Regions from separate parts of the Homo sapiens genome. Here region 2 is linked to region 1. The links are contacts of gene promoters, found by promoter capture Hi-C in human tissues and cell types (Jung and others, 2019). All regions are on one chromosome and are shown on one strand. The core of a region is centred on a gene start or on the middle of the fragment in contact, and the rest is flanking DNA. Distances in the headings are between cores, read along the strand shown.

What was found. The method cuts DNA at HindIII sites, captures the fragments that hold promoters and counts their contacts. A contact is called where the count stands out against the background at its distance.
Region 2: a fragment that was not itself captured here is called in contact with the fragment with the promoter of NEUROG3 in region 1 in 2 of the 25 tissues and cell types used here (mesendoderm cells and pancreas).

Annotation. Positions count from the first base shown.
Region 1 is chr10:69,572,148-69,574,847 of GRCh38, reverse strand. It overlaps NEUROG3 (neurogenin 3), which reads left to right and starts at 1,426. Exons shown (of 2, transcript NM_020999.4): 1 at 1,426-1,638; 2 at 1,804-2,700. The coding sequence starts at 1,805. The coding sequence ends at 2,449. It overlaps LOC101929021 (a long non-coding RNA gene), which reads right to left and starts at 1,891. Exons shown (of 4, transcript XR_946037.2): 1 at 1,781-1,891. RefSeq lists a silencer at 1,156-1,375 and an enhancer at 2,633-2,700. The HindIII fragment of the contact is 13,443 bases long and covers 1-2,700 here.
Region 2 is chr10:69,424,608-69,427,307 of GRCh38, reverse strand. No RefSeq gene overlaps it. Among named protein-coding and RNA genes, the nearest start is that of TACR2, 9.0 kb to the right of the region's middle. The HindIII fragment of the contact is 7,667 bases long and covers 1-2,700 here.

The sequences.
Region 1 (2,700 bases), core at 177-2,676:
CCCTTTGGAAAGGTTTCCAGAGAGCGCTACCAGGGACAACCCAAGGGGCTGGGGAAGTCCCTGCCTTGTGCTCTCTGTGCGATGCCCGAGTGATGCAGAGGCAGGGGGCTGGAGCAGGTGACTGCTGGCAGCTGCTGTCTGTCTGTGATTGGACCGGAGGACTAAGGGGAGAAAAAGTTTATCAGCTTCTCCCAGTGCCTGCACGCTGTGGTAGTTCAAAAGACACGAGGGGGAGGGGCACAGCAGCTCTGCTTCCCAGCGCCTTGGGAGACTGAAGTGAAAGGAACGCTTGAGCCCAGGAGTTCGAGACCATCCTGGGCAACAAAGCAAGACCGCCCCTCACCCCATACAAAATAAAAATACAAATAAATTAGCCGGGCACAGTGGCGCATGCCTGTAGTCTCAGCTACTGGGAAGGCTGAAGTGGGAGGATAGCTTGAGCCCAGGAGATCAAGGCTGCAGTGAGCTGTGATTGCACCACTGCAGTCCAGCCTGGGCGACAGAAGGAGACCGTTTTTTGGTTTTGTTTGTTCGTTTAAAAAAAAAAAGAAGCAAGAGCTCACTGTGAACTCCTGGTTCCTTCCTCCCCTCCTCACACTTCCCAGAACTCTTCCTGTCACGGTTCCTGGCCAGAACGCTGGGATACTATCTACAAGCTGTAGTAGGCTTGTAGTAATGGAATGTCCGCTTGAGGGGTCCCCGCACAGCCAACCCCTGCCTCTGGAGTGGGATCTATGGGGGTGGGGTTCTAAGCGCCTCTGGGGAGTGTGAGGTAGCATCTCAGGGTGTGGCAGAGGCTCGGACACCCCCAAAAGGTCTGCGAATGGAAGGGACATAGGCAGGATCTCTCTCAGTGATGTCCCCTGTCTTCCAGGATGAAGAGAGGCAGTGAAACACCAGGAGAGCAGGGCGTCCTTTAGAATTCCTGGACCCTTCTCCAGGCTGCTAGTCAGGACAATGAGCTCGTGGTTGTCTTTGCCACTATCTTCCTGTGCGATTTCAGACAAGCCACCTCCCTCACTAAGCCTAAATTTCCCCATGTGTAACGTGCAGGCATTGTACCCTAGAGGCATCAAAGTCCCCTCCAGGACAGATGCTAAGGAAAGATAGGCTAGGAGCAAAGCCGTCTGAGGTGGCCTGACCAGAGCCACACGAGGCTCTTCTCACTGGGCGAGGCTCTTTGAGGAACCGAGAGTTGCTGGGACCCAGCCCGCCCTCGAGAGAGCAAACAGAGCGGCGCTCCCCTCCCCCGACCCCGGCCCTTTGTCCGGAATCCAGCTGTGCCCTGCGGGGGAGGAGCGGGCTCGCGTGGCGCGGCCCCAGGGCCCCGGCGCTGATTGGCCGGTGGCGCGGGCAGCAGCCGGGCAGGCACGCTCCTGGCCCGGGCGAAGCAGATAAAGCGTGCCAAGGGGCACACGACTTGCTGCTCAGGAAATCCCTGCGGTCTCACCGCCGCGCCTCGAGAGAGAGCGTGACAGAGGCCTCGGACCCCATTCTCTCTTCTTTTCTCCTTTGGGGCTGGGGCAACTCCCAGGCGGGGGCGCCTGCAGCTCAGCTGAACTTGGCGACCAGAAGCCCGCTGAGCTCCCCACGGCCCTCGCTGCTCATCGCTCTCTATTCTTTTGCGCCGGTAGAAAGGTAATATTTGGAGGCCTCCGAGGGACGGGCAGGGGAAAGAGGGATCCTCTGACCCAGCGGGGGCTGGGAGGATGGCTGTTTTTGTTTTTTCCCACCTAGCCTCGGAATCGCGGACTGCGCCCAGTGACGGACTCAAACTTACCCTTCCCTCTGACCCCGCCGTAGGATGACGCCTCAACCCTCGGGTGCGCCCACTGTCCAAGTGACCCGTGAGACGGAGCGGTCCTTCCCCAGAGCCTCGGAAGACGAAGTGACCTGCCCCACGTCCGCCCCGCCCAGCCCCACTCGCACACGGGGGAACTGCGCAGAGGCGGAAGAGGGAGGCTGCCGAGGGGCCCCGAGGAAGCTCCGGGCACGGCGCGGGGGACGCAGCCGGCCTAAGAGCGAGTTGGCACTGAGCAAGCAGCGACGGAGTCGGCGAAAGAAGGCCAACGACCGCGAGCGCAATCGAATGCACAACCTCAACTCGGCACTGGACGCCCTGCGCGGTGTCCTGCCCACCTTCCCAGACGACGCGAAGCTCACCAAGATCGAGACGCTGCGCTTCGCCCACAACTACATCTGGGCGCTGACTCAAACGCTGCGCATAGCGGACCACAGCTTGTACGCGCTGGAGCCGCCGGCGCCGCACTGCGGGGAGCTGGGCAGCCCAGGCGGTTCCCCCGGGGACTGGGGGTCCCTCTACTCCCCAGTCTCCCAGGCTGGCAGCCTGAGTCCCGCCGCGTCGCTGGAGGAGCGACCCGGGCTGCTGGGGGCCACCTTTTCCGCCTGCTTGAGCCCAGGCAGTCTGGCTTTCTCAGATTTTCTGTGAAAGGACCTGTCTGTCGCTGGGCTGTGGGTGCTAAGGGTAAGGGAGAGGGAGGGAGCCGGGAGCCGTAGAGGGTGGCCGACGGCGGCGGCCCTCAAAAGCACTTGTTCCTTCTGCTTCTCCCTGGCTGACCCCTGGCCGGCCCAGGCCTCCACGGGGGCGGCAGGCTGGGTTCATTCCCCGGCCCTCCGAGCCGCGCCAACGCACGCAACCCTTGCTGCTGCCCGCGCGAAGTGGGCATTGCAAAGTGCGCT
Region 2 (2,700 bases), core at 194-2,693, 150 kb after region 1:
GGCTGCCCTCTAGTGTCGTTTGTTTTTCTTTCTTTTTTTTTTTTTTTTTTGAGACAGAGTTTCACCCCGTGGCCCAGGCTGGAGTGTAGTGGCACGATCTCGGCTCACTGCAAGCTCTGCCTCCCAGGTTCACGCCATTCTCCTGTCTCAGCCTCCCAGGTAGCTGGGACTACAGGCGCCCGCCACCACGCCCGGCTAATTTTTTGTATTTTTAGTAGAGACAGGGTTTCACCGTGTTAGCCAGGATGGTCTTGATCTCCTGACCTTGTGATCCGCCCGTCTCAGCCTCCCAAAGTGCTGGGATTACAGGCCTGAGCCACCGCGCCTGGCCTCTAGTGTCATAATCTGTGTATTACAGGCACTCCTGCACTTAGGCTACAGTCTGCATATCTCTGCAGGGGATGAGGCTGGGCCCACGTAGGAGCCAGAGTGGGAGTGGAGGGTCAGGGATGAGTAAGGCATGGTCTCCCCTGTAATGCTCAGGCCAGGATCTCCCAGGCAAGCCCCATTCTTGGCCCTACTGTGAGTAAGGGTCTCCTTTGGATGAGTCGCTGTCTCTGCAAAATGCTCACACGGAGGAAGCCCGGAGCAGGGAATGGGTGCTGGGCAGTCATCCTGGAGGCCTAAGATCCAGTTGCGGCTCCCCTAGTACTTGGCTGTCTGACCTGGAGGGAGTGCCTTTCCTGGACTTCAGTGTCCTCATCAGGGCTGGGCATCTCTGGAGGATGACGTTGTGTCTTTGCAGCTGACCACAATAGCGGGCAGGACCTACATTTCCCAGCCCTCCAGAAGAGACAAGAGGAAGCTTCTCATGTTCTCCAGAAGGGCCTTCCCAGAGCCAGCAAGGGGCAGAGAGCAAGTGCCCTGGAAGGCTTCCAGGAGGAGGTGGATTAATGAATTAGTAAATAGTGTCTGTGGCAAGACATCCCACCTTTGAGACACTGAGGAGAAACTTGCAGACACAGCAAGGCCTGGCAGCAAGAGAAGAAAGGCTGTGGGCTCTAGAGTCAGAGAAACCAGGCTTTCACTGTTGGTTCCCCCGACTGTGTGACCTTGGACATGTTATTTATTCCATCTGTGAAATGAGGATATAAACAATTCACAACAGCAAATGCTTATTTAGCCCTTTGTGTCAGGTACTGTTGTAAGCACTTTGTCTGTATTAACTAATTTAATCTCATAACAATCCCATGAGGTAGTACAAATTTTACAGGTGAGGAAAAGGAAGCACAAAGAGGTTATGCAACTTGTTCAGTCACCAGGCACGTGGCTGGTGCTCAGTAAATAGTAGCGACGCTGTAACCACAGAGATAACAATCACTGATTGCACTGAAACAGGTGAGCTTATGGGCAGAGTCAAGGGAAAGGCTGGGTGGGCCAGTGTCAAGGGAGAGAATTTCAAGAGACAGAATGTGATATCCTCCAGCAAGCATCAAGCACAAGGCATGGCTTTTTATTTGTGACCAGATCGTGATACCCCATTGTCCCTGGGGCTTCCCAAATGGGACCACCTGGGCAAGGAGGGGCAAGGGCTGTTAGAACTGGTTTATTCCCACTGGGTCCTGAAGAAGGAAGAAGTTCCCTTTCTCAGCTTCCCATGTGGCCTGGGGTGGTCATGTGACCTAGTTCTGGCCAATTAGATGTGAGGGGCATCTGCTGGGGGGAATCCTGGGGAAGGCTTTCCTCCCTGACCAAAAGAGAGAAGCCTAGAAGGAGACTTATTTTCCTTCCTGCTCCTTTCCTGGGATGAGAGTGCAGTTAGATAAAAAGATTGTTGGAGCTGTTGCAGCCCTCTTGCAGCTATGAGGGGAAGGCCAAGAAAAATCAAAGTTCCCAAAGAGCTTTTGACATCACTGAGCTGTTTCTCACAGAATCACCTATTTCCAGATGCCTGGTTATGTGAGAAAGATATTTGTTTAAGTTACTGTTACTTACAGCAAAAAGTATGCATGGTATCATATCCAAGTTGTTCCAGTGTGTTCATTCATCGGCGCACCATTCATTCATTTAATTAGAAGTTATCATTGAGCCAATCACAGTGGAGGACAGGGAGGATATGGCTGTCATCAAGGCTGTCATCAAGGCTGTCATCAAGGCTGTCATCATCATTCCTGGCTTTGTGGATTTCCTAGTATGGTAGGGAAAACACACTTTGAATACATGTGATGGATCAGGATGTTAACAAGAAAAAAAGCACAGGAATGCTATTAGAATGTAGAACAAAAATAGTTAACCTGTGGAAGCATCAAAGAAGTTCTTGAAGGCTAGTGTTTATTTAGAGTTACATGCCATCATAAAGGGTCCCCAAGATGTAAAATGCAGTGCCTCAAACAAGAGAGAAGTTTGTTTTGTTTTGTTTCCTTTATTATTTTTTTTTTCTAGACGGAGTTTCGAAAAACAGGCAAGACAGGGTCTCCCTGTGTTGCCCAGGCTGGAGTGCAATCTCAGCTCACTGCAACCACCACCTCCCGGGTTCAAGTGATTCTCCTGCCTGAGTCTCCCAAGTAGCTGGGATTACAGGTGCCCACCACCACGCCTGGCTAATTTTTTGTATTGTTATTAGAGATGGGATTTCTCCATGTTGGTCAGGCTGGTCTTGAACCCCCGACCTCAGGTGATCCACCTGCCTCGGCCTCCCAAAATTCTGGGATTACAGGTATGAGCCACCATGCCCAACCTGTTTCCTTTTTCTTTTTCACA